Linked DNA regions of Homo sapiens: all the other regions are linked to region 1. The links are contacts of gene promoters, found by promoter capture Hi-C in blood cells and fetal thymus (Javierre and others, 2016). All regions are on one chromosome and are shown on one strand. Each heading gives the region's core, a stretch centred on a gene start or on the middle of the fragment in contact. The rest is flanking DNA. Distances are from core to core; before and after follow the strand shown. Region 1 holds the start of MAP7D2 (MAP7 domain containing 2). Region 2 overlaps SH3KBP1 (SH3 domain containing kinase binding protein 1). Region 3 overlaps SH3KBP1 (SH3 domain containing kinase binding protein 1).

Region 1 (3,123 bases), core at 383-2,882:
AAATAAAATCCAAGATACACTGAAAACCCAATCATACCGCCCCTCCCCACCTCTCATGAGTACAACAGAACATCGAAACAAACTATTATTTAAGCTCTCAACCAAATAAAAATGCAAACTGAAACAACCTCTCCTTTTCAGTGTTTTATTATACAAGGTCGCCTCTGCCACGGAGGGTCGTTCTGGTGGGTAGTTTCCAGGTTCTTCCCTAGCAGATGCAGCTTGAGTGTTTCAAGCAAAAAGGATAAAAACAAAAGCACACATTTCAAAGGTAGTTATAACGTTATCCTGTGACAGTTAATGAATTCTGCCTTTAAAATAGCATAATGAAAAATACAAACTGGAAATGATTTAAGCTATCTCCTCCTCCTAAGAATGATGCAACTGAAGGCCCAGTCAGAAAATACTACCTCGCCCCCTCAACCCCAGTGAAAAAGCGTGTTTTAAGAAGATTTCTCTTGATTTCTTTCCTTTTCTTGGCCCATCGTATATAAAATACTCCCATCTTCACTATGTGATAATTCATCGAATTATAGTTTTGTGTGGTTTTTTAAATGCATATTAGACTGCAATAAAAAATGTTTTAAAAATAGCCTGCCTTATTAACTAAAAATAAAAAAGTTGTTGTCAGGAAAAACAGCATGAAATCGGTTTCCATGCTGCTTACACCCCCGCACTACCTGCAACCACTTTACAGAACGTTAGCATCAGACCTGCTTATCTAAAATCCTGCCAAATGTCCTCACAGTCTCCTCCGCTGCCTCGCTGGCTTCTGGGCAGCCAGGGACCAGCCCTCCATGGCTCCCAGCATCGGCAGCCTCGAGGGCTGAGAGCCTTGTTTGCCCCGCTGCCTCGATTGAGGGCCGCGGCCCGGCCACCTGAGCAGCGTTCCCAAGACAGGGAGCGCATCCGGGCGGGAGGAGCACCCGGTCCGGGGCAGACGCCTGGCCGCCCGGGCGAATCTGCCTCTGCCAATGGGTGACACGCCGATTTTGCCCCCTGGAAACGCCAAGAGGCGCGAAGCTGGGCCACCTTCGCCGCGGGCTGCAGCGGCGCTCGCGCGCGTTTCCCAGAACGCAGAGAGAGCGCGCGCGGAGGCCGGGGCAACCCCAGAACCCCGCTCGGTTTATCCTAACGACCCCCATGCCGGCTGCTCCTCGAGGACGGGGACTGGACCCGCAGCACCCCCTCAGGCACCTCCATCCCAAACACACCTGCCGCCCACCCTAAGCCACCCCCCATGTGTACCCACTCACCCAGGTCGCCCCAAGAAAGAACCCCGCCACTCGCACAGAGAGGGGTGCGGCCCTTGGATGCACGTCCGGACGATCCTGGGCCAGGGAAAGGGCGTTTATCTCAGCTCTGCGCCGTGCCCCTTCCCCCCACGCTCGAGGACCTTTGCCCTGGGCCGCCGGGCCCGCCCCCCCACAGGAACCCGAAGCCCTCGGGCGCCCGCCACACTCTGGGGATAATACCTTGAGGCCGGTAGTTGGGCTGAGAGGTCCGCACCGCGCCCGGTTCTGCGATCTTCCCTGGGAGAGAGGTTCCCCGCGCAGTCCCCTCAGGCCGGGATCCCGTCCCGGAGCCGCCGCCGCCGCGCTCCATCGGGATGCGCCGGCCGCACAGGCGCACTGCCAAGCCCGCCGCGCCGCACCGAACCCGCGCGCGTCCGCATGCGCACGCGTCCTCACGCAGCACGCGCGCAGGGCGTGCACGTGCGATAAGCGCACCGGTTACCACGCACAGCGCACGCAAGGCGTGCACGTGCGATAGGCGCACCGCTTCCACGCACAGCGCACGCAGGGCGTGCACGTGCGATAGGCGCACCGGTTCTCACGCGGCGCGCGCTTGTAGCGTGTGCATGCAATGTGCACAACAGTCCTCACACAGCGCGTACGGGCGTGCACGCGTCCTTACACGCTGCTGTACACAGTGCACACACAGAAGGCGTGCGTACGCACACAGTTCTTCATACGATGCTTACATGCAACATGCACACACAACGTGCACACCCAGCGTAAATGCATCTTCTCACAGTAGCAGATACACACTCAAAGCGTGTGTAGATGTAGGGTGCAGTTTCTCAGACACCGTGCACACACATCCTCACTCAATGTGTGAACACAGAGCACATAACGCGCACACACGTGCTCACTCAGCACGCACACGCTTACACTCACTGGGTGTCTGCATGCAAACTCAGCAATGCAGCCTTGGGAACAATTTCTGGCTAGGCCCCCAGGTGGGTGCCAGTTGGGCCAGTGACATCTGTGCAGACGCCAGAGGACCCGCCCTCCATGCATAGTTAGGTTCCAGTTTTCGAGGCGCACGGGTAATCAGTGTTTAGTGACGCCCCACCCTCAGCGTGCGGTCACCCAGAGAGGGACAGCAGCAAGCTATTGGGGTCGATCTTCAACTAAGAGGCAGCGGCACGCGCCGTAGGCCGACCTAGGCCTTTCAACGACACCCTACTCCGCAGCCAATTTGGTTCCTCTTCTCCTGAGGCGTAAATAATGCTGACTGAAACCTCCGCGATGCCGGGTGTGGTGGCTCCCGCCTGTAATCCCAACACTTCGGGAGGCTGACGCGGGCGGATTGATTGAGCTAAGGAGTTCGAGACCCCCGTCTCTACAAAAAAATTTTAAAAATTAGCTGGGCATGGCGACTCATCTGTGGTCCCAGCTACTTGGGAGGCTGAGGCGGGAAGATCGCTTGAGCCCGGGAGGTCGAGACTGCAGTGATCACGCCACTGCACTCCAGCCTGGGCGACAGAGACCTTGTCTCAAAAGCAAAATAAAACAAAAAACCTCTGAGGAGGATCTCTCCGAGAAGACACACAAGAAACTGCTAAACGGGTTGCCTCCTAAGTAGGCACTTTTACCACTGCCATGCACATTTATTATCTTTTCAAAAACATTGAAAAAGACATCTTGGCAGGGCCGGCTCAAGCCTTTTGTTTACCCAGGCCTGCCAAGTGATAACCCGTTCCCATGGAGCCCCAGGCTGCATGTTTTTTCTCGTTGGAAGGTGACCAGCCTGAAAGTTTTATTACCACTCCTGGGGGGAGATATACACGATTAAAAATGAAGCTGAATAATGGGTACAGGTTTTCTTTTTTGGATG
Region 2 (3,123 bases), core at 435-2,934, 500 kb before region 1:
TGGAGTGCAGTGGCATTCCAAAGTAGAGCCATTGTTGAACGTCTTTATACAGAAGGATAAATACATCATGGCTCACTGCAGCCTTGACCTCTCAGGCTCAAGCAATCCTTCCACTCAGTCTCTCGAGCAGCCAAGACTACAGGCATACTCCATCATGCATGGCTAATTTTTTAATTTTTTGTAGAGTCAGGGTCTTGCCATGTTACCCAGGCTAGTCTCAAATTCCTAAACTCAAGTGATCTGCCCGCCTCGGCCCTCCAAAGTGCTGGGATTACAGGTGTGAGCCACCACGCCTGACTGGCAGTCACTCACTCTTTTGTAATACAACGAAGTCATGACCCAGAGTGGAACTACTTACAAAAAATCCTGGCTTCTTAGCAGGCAACAATTTACAGGCTTTGCTATACTAACTTTTGCTTTTTTCTTTTTACATACTATATAACTAGCAACAAGAAACTGGGTGGATAACACACAAAAAAACAGTAAACACATTTCCTCTTGGGGATGCCAATATTAACTGAAGCAGGTATCAATGCCTGAAAACTGTACTCAGAAACACCCCTATGTCTTCTTCAAGCCACCTCACATTTTCCTGCTTCTTCACAGATCTAGTCATTTGCGATTATATTATCTCAACAGTTGCTGAGCAACTGTGCATGCTGTTGTTCAAAGACTGGATTTTGTTGTCTTCCCTGAAAGAGTGTTGAGTTCTGCTATGGTAGGCAGGTTACTTGCAGGTCAGCTTGACTGGTCAAGGCTTGGGTTTTTAGGCTTTGTTACAATGGGTCTAGGGTAGTGCTGTTCCTGTGGCTGGCTTTTCTGGGTTCTCAACTGGATGCCAGAAGTTCTCAACACGAGGATAGCACCTCGTGTTTTTCTACTCTGCTTAGCTAGAACTCTAACATCTCCCATTACTGGTGATCTCTGGGATATCCACTCAGCTCACAGCCCCTCCAAGTTCTTATTTTCTGCCAGGCCTCGTAGAGTCTTGCCCTACTGATGCCTGGCTTAGTATTTGGCCAAATCATCTAGATCTATACATTTCTGACACTCTTTCCTTGTGTAGCTCATTCTTTTGCAGTTCCCTGCCCTGAAAATTTGAGCCACCCCAGCAGTCCTGAATTACAGCTTGTTTCCTCTATCCAATAAATGAGTCTGCTACTCTTTGTTTGGGCTCCACTGCCCTGTGCTGCAATTTAGAAAGTGCCTCTAGGCAAAAAGCCAGGGTTGATGTAAAACTCACTTTTATGCTTCCCTTGTCTCCAGGATCACATTCTTGTGATATGTATTGTCCAATGCCTAAAAACAGCCACTTTGTATGTTTTGGCCAATGTTAGAGTTGTCTATGACAGGAAGGCAAGTCTAATTACCCTTTACTCTATAATAGCCGCAACCCCAAGTTATATATTCCCTCAAAAAGATTGTTTCTTCATTTAGACTGGACTTTTTCATTCTAGATATAATAGAACTTTCAGCTCTATCTTTAAAAGTCTGAGCTATTTCAAGGTCTAATTCCCAAAAGAAGTCCTAGAGAAAGAATGTGTGAAATGAAGACACATACAAGGGTTTTTAATTATCCTGGAGTTTCCTTTGCCAGTCATATGTTCCTTTCTCTAACAAGGAAGGTGAAGTATTCCCTAAAGTAGAGCCATTGTTGAACATCTTTATACAGAAGGATAAATACATGCAGTAAGTTAGTGCCACCTAGCTTTTTTCAGATAATGGCGCACACATAAAATAGTAGTTATTTTTATGACATACTGCTGGAGGCCAAAGGTTGTTGAAGGCCATCAGCCCAGAGGGGTGATTCCGGCCAGCTAAGGCCCTTCCCATCCACCCTGGAGAGCTGAAGAAATCACCACCCTACCCTCACAGCACATAGGTGAGGAAATGCTACAGAAGTAACCTTTGAGTTCAGATGTCATTAAGAAATGAGGGGAAAAAACAAAAACAAAAACAAAAAAACCTTAAACCAAATCTCAGTCCCTAGTAAGAGAACAGGACTTCCACAGGTGTTCAGTGTCACGAAGGCAGGAATCAGGAAGGCCCATGGGGATTTTCATAGAAGACAACCAAGGGCAGAAGCCCTAAAGGCCTCTGTGTGCTCAGCCTGTTTTCCTCTTAGAAAAAGATGTTTCTAGGGCTAGGCGCAGTGGCTCACGTCTGTAATCTAAGCACTTTGGGAGGCCAAGGTGGGTGGATCACAAGGTCAGGAGTTCATGACCAGCCTGACCAACATGGTGAATCCCCGTCTCTACTAAAAATACAAAAATTAGCCGGGCGTGGTGGCACACACATGTAATCCCAGCTACTCAGAAGGCTGAGGTAGGAGAATCGCTTGAACCCAGGAGGTGGAGGTTGCAGTGAGCCGAGATTTTGCCACTGTACTCCAGCCTGGGTGACAGACTGCGAGACTCTGTCTCAAAAAAAAAAAAAAAAAAAAAAAAACAGTTTCTATCTGGAGCCTCTTCAGAGAACAGCACCCAACAGATGCTGCCATGCTGGCCCAACTCCAGGGTGACCATTCATATTTGGTACTTCCTAGAGTTGTGGAACATGGCTATATAGTTTGTATACAAAAAAATACCAGAATTATTTATTGATTTCATAATTTCCTTTGCAACATATGCAATCTAAAGTCTTCTAAAAAATGTTTATGCTTTAGCCTTTTTTCTAATTGTGGAATGAAAGAATTTCTACTCCCATAAGTCCACTTCAAGGGTCAGTAATTGGCCGGGTGCAGTGGTTCACGCCTGTAATCCCAGCACTTTGGGAGGCTGAGGTGAGCGGATCACTTGAGTCTAGGAGTTTGAGACCAACCTGGACAACATGGCAAAACCCCATCTCTACAAAAAATTAGCCAGATGTGGTGGTATGCCTGTAGTCCCACCTACTTGGGAAGCTGAGGTAGGAGGATCACCTGAGCCCAGAAGGTCAAGGCTGCAGTGAGCTGCGATCACACCACCACACTCCAGCCTGGGTGACAAGAGTGAGACCCTGTCTTAAAAAACGAACAAAAAAAAAAAAAATCGGGCAGGAGCGGTGACTCACGCCTGTAATCCCAGCACTTTGGGAGGCCGAGGAGGGCAGATCACCTGAGGTCAGGAGTTTGAGACCAGCCTG
Region 3 (3,123 bases), core at 303-2,802, 470 kb before region 1:
AATAACATTTGATGATTCCAGGGGAACATCAGGGATGAAAAAAGCTTGATGTTATTCTGGCATCAGGTCAAATTTGATGAAAAACTGTTCTTAGAATTATTTTGAAAAATCAGGTACCGATAGTAAAAATAGCAGCTCTCAAAGTGTTCATTTCATTCACATTCCTGTTCACACTTCTAGCAGCATCCCTGCCAACATATTTGTTTTTCCCTTTGTGGGGCTGGAATAAAGCATCACCATTGTTAACACATTAGGAAGAGGAAAACAAAAACAACCAGTGCTTCTGGTATCACTGAACAAAGAATTCAGGAAAGGCAATAGTAAACACTGTCCCTACTCCTGACTTTGTTTGCTTCCCTGAAAAAAAAAAAAAAGGACACATGTAACGGTTTGGGCATTAAACCAACAGGTTTAGAGAGACCTTCAACAGGTTGCACATTTTTACAACTTCCCCTTCTTTAGTAACAGAAGAAAGTATTGCCCATCATCTTTGATATCCTGGCTTACCAAAACTTCCAAGCTACCAGACATCAAGCAAGGCCACCAATTCAATGCACTTACTTTGGTACAGAAGGACACAAAAAAGTAAGGCTCACTGTGGTTTGTTTCCTTCCTATTTCAGAAAACACAGCACACTGGCCTCTGCATGGATCCCAGCGACAGGGGTGATGGTGAAGCTGGTATTATCCTCATCTTCTGGGAAGTGCTGGCCTTAAATCTTCCCTTCTCCTTCATGGGCCATAGTTAAAAGTCTAGAATATGGCAAAGTTTCTCCCCATCTCAGCCTGTTCCTGCCAGTGCTCCGGAGATGGGAATTGGCCTAGTGTTTCTCTTGTCTCTAGGACCCAGACCTAGAGAAGTGTGGTCCCTGCACCAGCAGCACCTGAGAACTTGTTAGTAAAGCAAATTCCCAGGCCCCACCCCAGGCTTTCTCAATCAGAAACTCTGGGGATGGTTCCCAGCAGTCTCTAGGAACACACCCTCCGTGGGATTCTGATGCATGCTCACATTTGAGAACCACTGACCTAGATGTGGGAGGGAGTCCATTAGTATTAATCAAATGCCTTTTCTTGGATTAAAACTTCAGGGGCCTATTCTCATACCTAGATAAATTATGAAACATCTTTTTAACTCTTCTCCCTCTCTTCTCTCTCTCCTTTCCCACCAAACACATCTGCCTTCTCTATTCTCACTGGCCTAAGAACTTGTCATTGCTACTAAATGACTCAGTTCAGAGAGGAACTTGAGTACAGTAGATCAGACAATGTGACAACATTGCTGAGGGAAACATGGGGGAGGATAGTTGGCCACTGAAGGGATGGGTAGGTGGAAGGAAGGAGGAGGACAGAAAGAAAGAGAAAGAGGGAAGGAAAGAAGGAGAAGGAGGGAAGGAAGGAGAAGAAGAAAGGAAGGGAAGAAGAAAAGAGAAGGAGGGAAGGAAGGAAGGAAGGAGGGAAGGAGGGCAAGAGGGAGGAGGGAAGGAAGAAAGTTAGAAAGATGAAGGAAGGAAGGAGGGAAGGAAGGAAGGAGGGAAGGAGGGAGGGAAGGAGGGAGGGAAGGAAGGAAAGAAAGGAAGAAAGAAAGGTGGCTTTGAACCAAAACTGGAAGGCTGTATCTAGCCTCTCTGGGGACAGACTGCCCAGAAGGCTAAGCAGGCAGACTCTCATGACTGTATGAGCCTTCATAGAGGCCCAAATCCTGTTTCTCCTTCTCAGTGTTACCCTTTACTGGCATTTTAGGTGAGGTGTTTCTTCAGGTAGAAGACTGGCTCACACATTAAAGGACATTTAGCAACCCTTGCCACTACCCACTCAAAGTCTATAGTGTCCCCCAGTCATTGCATGTACCCTGAACACCACACACCTTTCCAAACATCCCTAGTTGAGAACCTCTAGCCCCCGCCCTTCCCTACATACAGGAGCAAAGAAAAACGGTGGTGAATTATTGCTTTCCCGTCAGCCTTCCAGCTTCCCTCTACCTCTGAAAACATCTTTGGCTAATTGGGCTTAAAATGAATAGAATCCCAAATTTCAAAGGGCATGCCTCATGAACGCAATGTCTAGCTCCAGTACACAGATATCTCATGGATAACTGAAGGTCAGCTACACTGCAGGGCTAAGTGGACAGAACAATCAGGAATCGCATCCATACATCTCTCCTCCAACTAGAAGGCAACAAAGAGGGATGTTAGGCTTGCAGTGGCTGGGGAAGAGGATACAGGATCTCCCCTTTGGCTTCCTCCACAGTGTTCTTGCTCCCCTGAGTGCCTTAAGGAAGGTGGCTTATCCACGACAAACACCAGCCATGCACTAAGGGGCTGTGTTGACATGCTCAGGACACAGCCCATTCACCTCCCGGGGGATCTGGAAACAGACCCATTTTGCCATATGACTTTATAGAACAGACTCTCAGGTTCTTCTCCCTAACTTGGCCCATTATTTCCTCTTCCTTCTGTGAGGCAGCTGAAGACTTCCCAGTACACACACCCACATTAGTCAGATCTGCTTGGTCTGGGAAAGGATGTGCATGTGGTTGGATGGATAGAGCTGTATCTGTATCACTGTGGATCTTCTTCTACACATGGTAATTACCAGGCTGCTGTCAACTTTTGTCTTTCTTGCCACATACCTATCTCCATTTAAAACCTGACTTTTAAAAATCAATAATTCAGAAAGTTCATTCCTTTGAACATTTAATAATGTAACTACCTCTCCAATTTGCTGTCTTGCCAAAAGCACTAAATAAACGTTTCAGGATTTTCGTGTACAGTGGGAGTATCATATGTACTCCTAGCGCTACAAGATCCAGTGGTACAGCATCAAGACAGATAACCACCATATGATTTCAGTTAGTGGAGCAACTAATTTGTTTTCTCTGCCAAAATGAAGAAACTAATGCTTACGGGAAAGGCAATCGCTGGATTGGAGTCCAGGGGAATCTAGTTCCCAAATGACTAATGTATTTGTTTCTTTGTGACTGCAGAACGTGAGACCAAGATCCTGCTCAAATCAAGAGTATAAAATTCCTTCTCCTACTTTATTCCAATTCACATGCAAACTCCAAGCTTCCAATTATAGGACAATGCTAAGGAGAAGAAAATCTCTGAAAATCTCCTCTCCAAGA

Evidence for each region. The method cuts DNA at HindIII sites, captures the fragments that hold promoters and counts their contacts. A CHiCAGO score of 5 or more calls a contact.
Region 2: a fragment that was not itself captured here is called in contact with the fragment with the promoter of MAP7D2 in region 1 in 4 of 17 cell types (naive B cells, total B cells, total CD8 T cells and 1 more); the score reaches 7.6 in naive B cells.
Region 3: a fragment that was not itself captured here is called in contact with the fragment with the promoter of MAP7D2 in region 1 in 1 of 17 cell types (naive B cells); the score reaches 6.1 in naive B cells.

Annotation. Positions count from the first base shown.
Region 1 is chrX:20,115,275-20,118,397 of GRCh38, forward strand. It overlaps MAP7D2 (MAP7 domain containing 2), which reads right to left and starts at 1,633. Exons shown (of 17, transcript NM_001168465.2): 1 at 1,476-1,633. The coding sequence starts at 1,605. The HindIII fragment of the contact is 4,441 bases long and covers 1-3,123 here.
Region 2 is chrX:19,615,963-19,619,085 of GRCh38, forward strand. The region is part of intron 8 of SH3KBP1 (SH3 domain containing kinase binding protein 1); the gene reads right to left. Among named protein-coding and RNA genes, the nearest start is that of MAP3K15, 100 kb to the left of the region's middle. The HindIII fragment of the contact is 5,174 bases long and covers 1-3,123 here.
Region 3 is chrX:19,646,917-19,650,039 of GRCh38, forward strand. All of the region lies in intron 6 of SH3KBP1 (SH3 domain containing kinase binding protein 1), which reads right to left. Among named protein-coding and RNA genes, the nearest start is that of MAP3K15, 130 kb to the left of the region's middle. The HindIII fragment of the contact is 3,020 bases long and covers 43-3,062 here.